Linked DNA regions of Homo sapiens: region 1 is linked to region 2. Evidence: promoter capture Hi-C in 16 types of primary human blood cells and fetal thymus (Javierre and others, 2016). All regions are on one chromosome and are shown on one strand. Each heading gives the region's core, a stretch centred on a gene start or on the middle of the fragment in contact. The rest is flanking DNA. Distances are from core to core; before and after follow the strand shown. Region 1 overlaps TRAIP (TRAF interacting protein). Region 2 holds the start of IP6K1 (inositol hexakisphosphate kinase 1).

Region 1 (5,213 bases), core at 1,300-3,799, 46 kb before region 2:
GGGTAGGGTTTGGGGGGGATGTGCAGACTGCTGGCATCATGTTGAGTCTTACCTGAACCCAGGATGCAGAAGGCTTTACTGTTGGGTCCAATAATATTGGCTGCCCTAGGTCATTGTACATAGTTTGTTTAGTGTCTTTGAGAAAAGCTCTTCTATTTATTGGCCCAGGGCAGCAGCCTAACTGCCTAGTGTTCTACCAATGCAGATTAGGATGGGGTGGAGCCAAGCTCACAATTTCATCAGTGTTCCAGTTTTCAGGCCTGTTTAATGCTTTTGCAAGGCCCTCCCTTTCCTTCATGGACCCCCTCCTTGTGGGTTCTGGCTGCTGTGTCAGTCTCTTGTCCCCTGGCCATGCTTTGTCTCCCAGAATTTTTTGGAAATCTCTGGGGGCTGATGGTGGTTGCCCCTTCTACTTGTTGCAGTAGGATTACCCTTCATACCTGTCATTTTAGGGAGGCATCAGCATGTAGCCACCACCCCCAACTACAGAGTCAATGTTAGGAAGATCTCTCTCATGGGCCCCAAGGGCCCCTGAACTCCAGGCTAGAGACAGCCAGGGAGACCTTTCCTTAGGGTAGGGTAAGGCCGCCAGGAGCCATGAGTTCATGGAGGAGATGTTGACTAATCCCATGCCACGCAGGCAATGGGCTGCTCAAGGCCTTAGCTCTGTTCTGGAAAGGGGAGCTTTGAGTGTCTTGCCTGGCTCCCTGAGGCCTCTGGCATGAAGCCCTGTAACTTGACCATGGGTGGGTGTCCCAAGGGTGATAGTGTCACTCAGGAGGGCCTCAAGCCAGCCTCAACCAGTGAGGGAAGGACTACTAAGCCCTAGGTTCTTTCTCCTTGTAGGACAAACAGAAAGTGGGAAGGAAAGAAAGTGGACCCCTGGCAGAAAGGGAAATAGGCTTCAAGCTCATGAAGGAAGAAGAATATAGAAACAGTCTAAGACAAGGCCGGGCGCGGTGGCTCATGCCTGTAATACCAGCACTTTGGGAGGCCGAGGTGGGCAGATCACGAGGTCAGGAGAGCGAGACCATCCTGGCTAACACGGTGTAACCCCATCTCTACTAAAAATACAAAAAATTAGCTGGGCGTGGTGGCGGGCGCCTGTAGCCCCAGCTACTCAGGAGGCTGAGGCAGGAGAATGGCTTGAACCCGGAAGGCGGAGCTTGCAGTGAGCCGAGATCGCACCACTGCACTCCAGCCTGGGTGACAGAGCAAGATTCCGTCTCAAAAAAAAAAAAAAGAAACAGTCTAAGAGAGGAAGAAATGTGTCCATATGATCCAGATGTGGATATGGGGAGTGAGGGAGGCACCGTGAGAACCTCCTGAGTCTTGAGTTTAGTGTTGTGGATGACCAGGAGGTGCAAGTGAATAAGCCTGGCTTGCCTTGAGCTTGGGCACCACTAGGCAACGCCTTAGGGGATGGCTGGGAGTAGAAAGTCCTGCCTTGAGCCACCTGGAGGGTAAAATTTACAGGACCCAGCGAGATCCTGCCTTCCTCTTGAGTTTACCTTTCCTAACCTGAGCCTCAACTTGCTGGGGTTGGTAAATGGTGGCAGAATATGGATACTGCAAAAAAGTTGGCATGAGTGGTCCTGGCTGCTGTGGTTCCCAGAGGAGGAAGCAAAGCAGCCAGCCTAGAGTTGGTTTGAGGTGGGTTTGTGCAGTCTTCATTTTAACTTGCAGGCGGGGACAGAGGTAGAGCTTCTAGGGTCCTGGACAGGGAAAGGAAGAAATAGTCCAGGCTGCCTGGATTGCTTAGCCACCCAAATCAATGCAGGTAGGCTTCCTCCCTCTGATGTGTACACCCCAGTGGAAGTGGGATTGTGGTGCAGCTCTGAAAAGTTCCTGAGGAAGGAAAGAGAGAAGGCATCTTTGGAGCTACCCTTGCCATTCCCCAGGGTTCTCCTTGTATGACAGGAGGTGGGGAGCCCTGCCAGGTCTGGGTGGGCTGGAAGAATCCTGTCGGCTGTAGTTTTAATAGAATAAAACTTCACTCCCCACCCCCCACCCCCCCCCCCCCCCCGTGTTATAAAAGTAAAAACACACTCATTGAGAATTTGGAAAATAGGGAGTTATCATAGAGGTACTTATGGTTGACATGTGGAATATTTCCTTCTCCTTTTTCTGCATGTGGGAGTGGTGGGGGGGTGCCAAATCATGTAATTGCACTATACATGGAGTTTTGTGTGCTTTTTAAATTAAATTAAATTTAAACTTTTTTTTTTTTTTTTCCTGAGACGGAGTCTTGCTCTGTCGCCCAGGCTGGAGTGCAGTGGCGCGATCTCGGCTCACCGCAAGCTCTGCCTCCCGAGTTCAAGCAATTCTCCTGCCTCAGCCTCCCGAGTAGCTGGGACTACAGACACAAGCCACCACACCCAGCTAATTTTTGTATTTTTAGTAGGATGGGGTTTCACCATGTTAGCCCGGGTGGTCTTGATCTCTTGACCGCTTGATCCACCCGCCTTGGCCTCCCAAAGTGCTGGGATTACAGGCGTGAGCCACTGTGCCTGGCCGAGAGTAGGGCTCTCTTGAGGGGTGGCCTTGAGTCAGGAGTGGGCTCCAGGTCCCTGGAGCTGAGTTATCTCTGATGCTTCAGGAGCTGTTGTCCTGGGTTACCACTGTGGCCCCAAGTAACCAGGTCATCTCTGCCTTCAGCCCAGCCCCTGTGGAGGTGAATCTGAAGCTCCGCCGGCCATCCTTCCGTGATGATATTGATCTCAATGCTACCTTTGATGTGGATACTCCCCCAGCCCGGCCCTCCAGCTCCCAGCATGGTTACTACGAAAAACTTTGCCTAGAGAAGTCACAGTGAGTGATAGTCGCTGGCACTGTCCATGGGCTGGTAGGGGGATAGCTAAGACAGCTCTGCAGGCCCTGTGCTGTTAGCTCTGAGTGGCTGATGGGGCAGTGAGGGTTGCCTAGGCTTGGCCATGGCTTTGGTTCCAGCTACCTCTTGTTCCCTCACCTGAGCACTCAATCTGTGCAAACCCCTTCTCTTTTCTCATTATTCCTCACCATCACCTTTCAAGGCAAACGTATTGGAATGCAAGTTAGAGAGAATGCAGTGATGCCAGAAGGGGTGGGTCTGGGCTGGAGAGGGTGCTCCCAATACCTTGAAGGCCTGCCCACCAGAGTCCTGAGCGAGGGACTCTGAACTTCCTCTTCTATGTTTGCCTCTGAGGCTCATGCCTGAGGGAGGATCATCTCAAACCACAGAGCCCAAGGCCTTACCACCCAAGGGGGTGACCCACAGGGGCAAGCATGAGAAGCTGTCTGGAATTCCAGTGGGGCAGGTGGAACCTGCTCTGGGGTACGGTGGGACCAGAAAAAGGGAGGCTGTCTCCTTGGCCAGCTTTGCCAAGTGTAATTCACTGTGGAGACAAGGACTATACTCATTCATACAGGTACTGTTCAGGTGAGGCTGGTCAAGGGCTGGGCAGGTTTCCTCTTTTTCAAAGACTTTGTACAGAGAGAAAGAAGAGAAAGAGAAAGAAACTGAGATGCTAGACAGTGGAGGTGGAAGGGAGCAAGAGGGCAAGCCAGCTGGGCTGTCCTACCTCCCAAACCTCAGGGGGCATGGGCACCCCTGTTGTAGAGGGCGAGGCCTGGTAGCAATGAGAAACAAACCTAGGACCCGTGGGCTGTAGTCCTCAGGGATCCTGTCAGTGTCTGCTGTGTACTCTGGCTTCCTCCCATTGCCCTTCTTCCGCTGTAAAGGTTGAAGGTGGACACCTGGGGTCTTCAGGCTGCCAGGCCTTTCAGAGACATTTCCACCACCTTCATGGCCTGTGGAGGTAGTGAAGGAGGTAGTGAAGTTCTGAGTCCCTAACTCAGCTCGTCCTTCCTGGAGCCTTGGTTGTCATGTAGCCTTACCACAGGCCGTTAGGGCAGGAGCAGAGGAGTCAGTCATCAGGCCCTGATCCCACTCTTGTCCTTATGGCTTGAGAAGCCACAGGGCCAGCCTTAGATCACCATCTTCTCACCCACCAGGGAAAATGCCAGGAGAGGGTATCCAGCTGCTGGGTTCCCCAGGAATTGGATGGAAATACAGTTTCTGGCTCTGGGGCTGGGATTGGGAGACCAGGGCCTGGGGCCATGCGCTATTCTGCCCCAGGCCCTTCTTAGACACACTCTCTAGGGAGATGGCTTGGCCCTGTGTTCTGAGAGGATTTTGTGGGCTACTTTACTGAAAGGCTAACTTACTGAGGCTCTCGTGGAGGTAGTGTCCCCTCTCTGGGAAGACAGGACTAGGCCTGAGCTCATTAAATTTCTTTTGCTCGTATCAGGGCATGACTGGCTTTCCTCCCGTGGGTGGTGAGTTGATTGGGCTCTTCAGCCCCATATAGAGCCTGGGACATGGTGAGGTGCCCGAGGACTTGAGGAGCGTTGGAATTTGGCCTTGAGTGGAAGCCACAGGATTGGGACATGGTCCAGTCATCCCCAGTCATCCCTGTCTCTGCCACCCTACTGGCTGTGGCTGTCCAGCTGTTAACAGACCTGCACTTGGGGTGGGATCACTGAGGTGCCTTGCCCAGAATGCAGGCATGGCAGCAGCAGTGCCACATGGTAACTCCCCAAGGGGCGTGTGCTGAGCCTGGTTCACCTGCCCCCATGTCTTGCTTACCTACCCCTTGCCTTCTCTCTCATTCTTGTAGCTCCCCAATTCAGGATGTCCCCAAGAAGATATGCAAAGGCCCCAGGAAGGTAAGAGCTTTCTAGAAGAAGCACAGTCTAACCTTTGGCAGGACTGGACTTTTGGGAGGGCACGGTCTTGCCAGAGCCTTGTCACTCCTGGTCCAGGACTGAGGTACTTCGGAGCCACCCTTGGGATTCTACTCATTATCCCTCCTGCCTCCTAGTGAGGCATCAGAGATCCTGATCTTGTTCCACCACCACTACCCTCCCTCCTTTGCTGACATCCAGCTCATCAAGTCTGGCCCTGGGGTCTTCCCTGCAGGAGTCCCAGCTCTCACTGGGTGGCCAGAGCTGTGCAGGAGAGCCAGATGAGGAACTGGTTGGTGCCTTCCCTATTTTTGTCCGGAATGCCATCCTAGGCCAGAAACAGCCCAAGAGGCCCAGGTCAGAGTCCTCTTGCAGCAAAGATGTGGTGAGTGTGGCTTCCCACAGTGGCAGGAGCCAGCCCTCTTGGGTAGAAATGGGTGGCCAGCCCCCCAGCCCATTAGCCTGGCCCACTCATCTCTTCCTTCCAC
Region 2 (5,253 bases), core at 2,017-4,516:
TGTTGTTGTTGTTGAGATGTTTCTCTTTTTAATTTTTTTCTTAATTTTTAATTTTTGTGGGTACATAGGTGTATAAATTTGGAGGTACATGAGATGTTTTAATAAGGCATGTAATGGTTAATAATCACCTCATCGAAAATGGGGCATCCATCCCCTAAAGCATTTATCCTTTGTGTTACAAATAATCCAATTATACTCTTTCAGTTATTTTAAACTGTACAATTAAGTTATTATTGACTACAGTCACTCTGTTGTGCTATCAAACACTAGGTCTTATTCATTTTTCTTTTTTTTTGGTACCCATTAACCGTCCCACCTCCCCACCCCTTCCAGACTCTGGTAACTATCCTTCTACTCACTATCTCCATGAATTCAATTGTTTTGTTTAAATCTTTTTCCTTTTTTTTTTTTTTGAGATGTAGTCTTACTTTGTCACCCAGGCTGGAGTACAGTGGCACGATCTTGGCTCACTGCAACCTCCGCCTCTCATGATCAAGCAATTCTCGTGCCTCAGTCTCCTGAGTAGCTGGGACCACAGGTGTGCACCACCATGCCGGCTAATTTTTTTATTTTTTATTTTTAGTAGAGATGGAGTTTTCCTATGTTGGCCAGGCTGGTCTTGAACTCCTGACCTCAGGTGATCCTCCTGCCTCAGCCTCCCAAAGTGCTGGGATTACAGGCATGAGCCTCCGCACCAGCCAATCTCACAATCTCATTCTTTTTAATGGCTGAATAATATTCCATTCTGCATATGTACCATATTTTCTTTTCTTTTTTTTTTTTTTGAGATGGAGTCTCGCTCTGTTGCCCAGGCTGGAGCACAGTGGCGTGATCTCGGCTCACTGCAAGTTCCGCCTTCTGGGTTCACGCCATTCTCCTGCCTCAGCCTCCTGAGTAGCTGGGACTACAGGCGCTTGCCACCACGCCCGGCTAATTTTTTGTATTTTTAGTAGAGATGGGGTTTCACCGTGTTAGCCAGGATGGTCTCCATCTCCTGACCTCATGATCCGCCCGCCTCGGCCTCCCAAAGTGCTGGGATTACAGGCGTGAGCCACCGCACCCGGCCCATATGTACCATATTTTCTTTATCCATTCACCTGTTGATGGACACTTAGGTTGCTTCCAAATCTTGGCTATTGTGAATGGCACTGCAGCAAACATGGAAGTGCAGATATCTTTTTGATATACTGATTTCCTTTCCTTTGGGTACATACCCAGCAGTGGGATTGCTGGATCATGTGGTAGCTGTATTTTTAGTTTTCTGAGGAACCTCCGAACTGTTATCCACAGTAGTTATACCACTGTTGCTTTTTGAGGGTCCCATCAAACTTCAGGGCAATTTGCCAACTGTATGTGGAGGTTTTCTTGGGAAGGATCTGGAGCTTTTGCACTGCGGTGAGGGGTGATGCAGACTTGAGAATCCTGTGGCATGGCTGGTCCTGGAGGATTAGCAGAATCCCCCTTTTGAGGGTTGTTGGCTTTTCTTCCTGATCTGTTTCTTCTGGTTCCTCTGCTCTCACATCTCCCTGTGTTGACCTGAGCTATTGCATGTAGCCAAGTGGCCTGCAGCAATCTGCTGGTGGGCAGGTCTTGCTGGATGCAGTGTTGGCCCACTCTCCATGCCCAACCTGACATCAGGTCTCAGGCTTCTGCCAGCTCTCCAAGAGGACCTTACTGTGGTAAATCCAAGTTATCACAGTCTTTACTCGTCTGTTGAGTCTGTGGGCCTGAACCCCCTCAGGGTACTGGAGAACCTCCCTTTTTTTTTTTTGAGACAGAATTTTGCTCTGTCACCCAGGCTAGAGTGTGGTGGCGTGATCTCAGCTCACTGAACCTCTGCCTCCCAGGTTCAAGTGATCCTCCTGCCTCAACCTCCTGAGTAGCTGGGATTACAGGCACCTGCCATCACGTCCAGCTAATTTTTGTATTTTTAGTAGGGACAGGGTTTCACCATTTTGGCCAGGCTGGTCTCGAACCTCTGACCTCAAGTGATCCACCTTCTTTGGCCTCCCAAAGTGCTGGATTACAGGCATGAGCCACTGCGCCTAGCTAGGAGGACCTCCCCTTCTGAACCAGTTATGGTATCCCAGGGCCAGGAAGAAGCTGAAAGCCTTCTGTGGGAACAAAACAAAGCAAAACAAAAACGCTTCATGGGGCTTCCACCAAAGTTAGTGTTTTAAGGCACGCCTCAGGAACAGCAACTTGGAAGCAGGTTGTTCCAGGAAGTGGTTGTAGGCAGATTTTTCCTGAGTTCTTCCCCTGCTCTGAGGGCTCATTAAATCTTCCTCTGAGAAGCTCCACTTTTATCTTCATTTTACAGATGGGACAACCAAAGCTAAAGAGAGGCTAAGGCTCAAAAGTCAGAGTTAGCTAGTTGGGGCATTTGGGTGTGGGCCCAGGCCACGTAACTTCATCTGTTGTTCTAAGCCTGAAGCCAAGCCCAGAGTTAGGTGTTCTGTATGGGGAGCAAGGTGTGACCATCTTCCTGGGACCATTAGTCTGCTTGGGAGGCCGGTCATGACAGTCCAGGGCAAAAGATGCTGTCACAGGATCTCAAGACAAGATGCTCTAGGGAAGAGAAAAGGGAGTGCCCGCTGTGTGTCAGGACTTGTGCTAGGCTCTAAACCTCAGGCAGGAAAGCATGGGCAATGAGCCAGAGGCTGCTGTGGCAGCACAGACTGCGGTACCTCGAGGCTAGTAAGGGACAAAGCGTGGGAAGCTGGGATAGAGGCTCCTCACACTCTGAAACCAGCAGGAGGAGGTGCGAGACCCAGCACCTCCATTTCTAGAGGTGGCGTGACCTTGGCTCGGCCTCCCCTCTCTGAGCCTCAGTTTCCTCTCCAGAGTGAACTGGGGGCTGCACCCCCCTTCTCCCAGAGTGGGGGACAAAAAAACGAATAGCACACCGCTGAGATTCCCTGTGTGTGCGCAAGTGTATGACAAGACGCCGCCGGTACCGCACGAGGGCCAGGGACGCAGAGAGGCCAAGGGCGCTCCGGCCTCGTAGTAGCCAGCGAAAACTCCGCCGCCAGCCACTCCGGGAACGAAGCGCATGCGCCAACCCATGCCGTCACAGTCACGTGCCCCACGCTTTCGGCAGAGGCCCTGAGAGGCAGACTCTGACTGACACGTGAGCTGACCTGTCAGCAGGAAGCACTTCCCCTGGCGACGAGCAAAAAGACTGTTGATTGGGGATAGCACCCCCTCGGGGGCGGGTTCTTTGCAGTCCTGGTTACTATGACGCCCGGCCCCCGCCCCCTCGGCTAGCCGCCATCTTGTTGTTGATCCGTACCCAGTGGGCAGCGCCGGGAGCTGGACCAAGCGGCCGGTGAGAGGCCGCTGTAGCGGTGCTCAGCCACCTGTGCTGCCTGCCAGGGGGCGGGCCGAAACCTGGAGGCCCGGGGGGCCCAGCTCCCGTAGGGAGCCGTGGGCGCTCGGTGCCCGGGCCGGGCAGGTGAGTGACAGGAGCCGGGCCGATAGACCGGCCTGACGCCCGCGGGGAGGGCGGTGGCGGGCGCGGGGTTGGAGTGGGCGCGTGTGGGGTCGGGGCTCCGGTGGGGCCATCACTGGAACATCGCTCGAGCGTCCTGACCGGCCGCCCGCCGAGCCTCCCAGATGCTGGCACCGAAGCCGGGGGGACAGCCGGTGTGGAGGACGGAGAGCGCCAGTGCCTGAGGGTTGGCCGGCTAGTAGCGGGAAACCAGCTTCTCTGACCGAAGCTCTGGACTCCGCTGATCCGGAGCGCTAAAGTGTGTCCGGTGCCACCCTGATGCTCTCCTGGGAGTTATGTTGCTCCTGGCTGAGAAATAGACTTACCTCTTTCTTAGATAGCGTTCCTGCGAGTGATTTTCAGGACGCTGGATGCTAAGACTAGACGAAGCAAGCCAAAGCCCCCGCGAGCCAGGCAGGCCGGTGTCACGGCCCTATGATTATGGCAAGGGGGACCCTCTGCCTGGCTGCTGCTTCCTGAGACCCGTTCGGAACCTCACGTGTACCTCGAAGCTCACCGTTTTCCTCGCAAAGAACCTGGTTAAATGTCCATAATGGCTGAGTTTTATTTTGGAACATAATTTCTTTGGTTCTTCACCACCACTTTTTGGAGAGTGGTAATGTCTTCCTCTTTTTGCTTTAGGAGAAAGTGAGTATTATGGTGATGACTTGATTTTATCTCCTAAAGGGATGCTCGCCATAGGAGACAAAGGAAACGTAGGAGTGTCTTAGAATCGGAAAAAGAAACTTGTTTTTGTTGTGGATGATATGGAACTGGCAAATTAACTGTTTTTTTTCTTTTTTTTCTTTTGAGACAGAGTCTCTCGCTCTGTTGCCCAGGCCGGAGTGCAGTGGCGCGATCTCGGCTCACCACAGCCTCCACCTCCCGGGTTCAAGCGATTATCCTGCCTCAGCCTCCCGAGTAGGTAGGACTACAGACACGCGCCACCATGCCCGGCTAATTTTTGTATTTTTAATAGAGACGGGGTTTCACCATGTTGGCCAGGCTGGTCTCGAACTCCTGACCTCGTGATCCACCCCCCTTGGCCTCCCAAAGTGCTGGGGTTACAAGTGTGAGCCACTATGCCCGGCGCAAATTAACTTTTAACAGTACTAAAATTATCTTGCTCAGTGAAAACACCTTCAAGCCCCTTTCCTGTGAATTTGGGCAAGTTGGAGATCCTCAGTAGAGTGTGCAGGTCTAGGAAGAGTTCTCATTGCTCCAAAACACATTTCTCTTGACCTGTGGCCTCTTTGGTTCTTTGTACAGTCTTCTTGTATGTGGTCATAGAATATGCCTGCATGAGATGACTAAGAAGTCAAGCGACAATACTTTGTGCACTTTTTGTTTTGTTTTGTTTTGTTTTGTTTTTTTGAGATGGAGTCTTGCTCCGTTGCCAGGCTGGAGTACAGTGGTGCCATCTCGGCTCACTGCAACCTCTGACTCCCTGGTTCAAGCAATTTTCCTGCCTCAGCCTCCCGAGTAGCTGGGACTACAGGCACGTGCCACCACACCTGGCTAATTTTTGTATTTTTAGTAGAGACGGGGTTTCACTATGTTGGCCAGACTGGTCTCGAACTCCTGACCTCATGATCAACCCGCCTCCGCCTCCCAAATTGTTGGGATTACAGGCATGAGCCACCGCGCCAAGCCTACTTTTTTTTTTTTTTTCTGAGACGAAGTCTCGTTCTCTCACCCAGGCTGGAGTGCAATGGCACAATCTCAGCTGACTGCAACCTCTGCCTCCTGGGTTCAAGCAAGTC

What was found. Contacts are between HindIII fragments. The CHiCAGO score rates a contact against its expected background, and 5 or more counts as called.
Region 1: a contact is called between a fragment that was not itself captured here and the fragment with the promoter of IP6K1 in region 2, in 2 of 17 cell types (megakaryocytes and endothelial precursors). The highest score is 7.0, in megakaryocytes.

What each region holds. Positions count from the first base shown.
Region 1 is chr3:49,829,514-49,834,726 of GRCh38, reverse strand. It overlaps TRAIP (TRAF interacting protein), which reads left to right. Exons shown (of 15, transcript NM_005879.3): 11 at 2,659-2,811; 12 at 4,659-4,707; 13 at 4,961-5,110. Among named protein-coding and RNA genes, the nearest start is that of UBA7, 18 kb to the right of the region's middle. The HindIII fragment of the contact is 6,901 bases long and covers 1-5,213 here.
Region 2 is chr3:49,784,555-49,789,807 of GRCh38, reverse strand. IP6K1 (inositol hexakisphosphate kinase 1) reads left to right here and starts at 3,266. Exons shown (of 6, transcript NM_153273.4): 1 at 3,266-3,454. RefSeq lists silencers at 1,413-1,622, 2,403-2,567, 3,303-3,652 and enhancers at 2,743-2,812, 2,899-3,588. The HindIII fragment of the contact is 18,469 bases long and covers 1-5,253 here.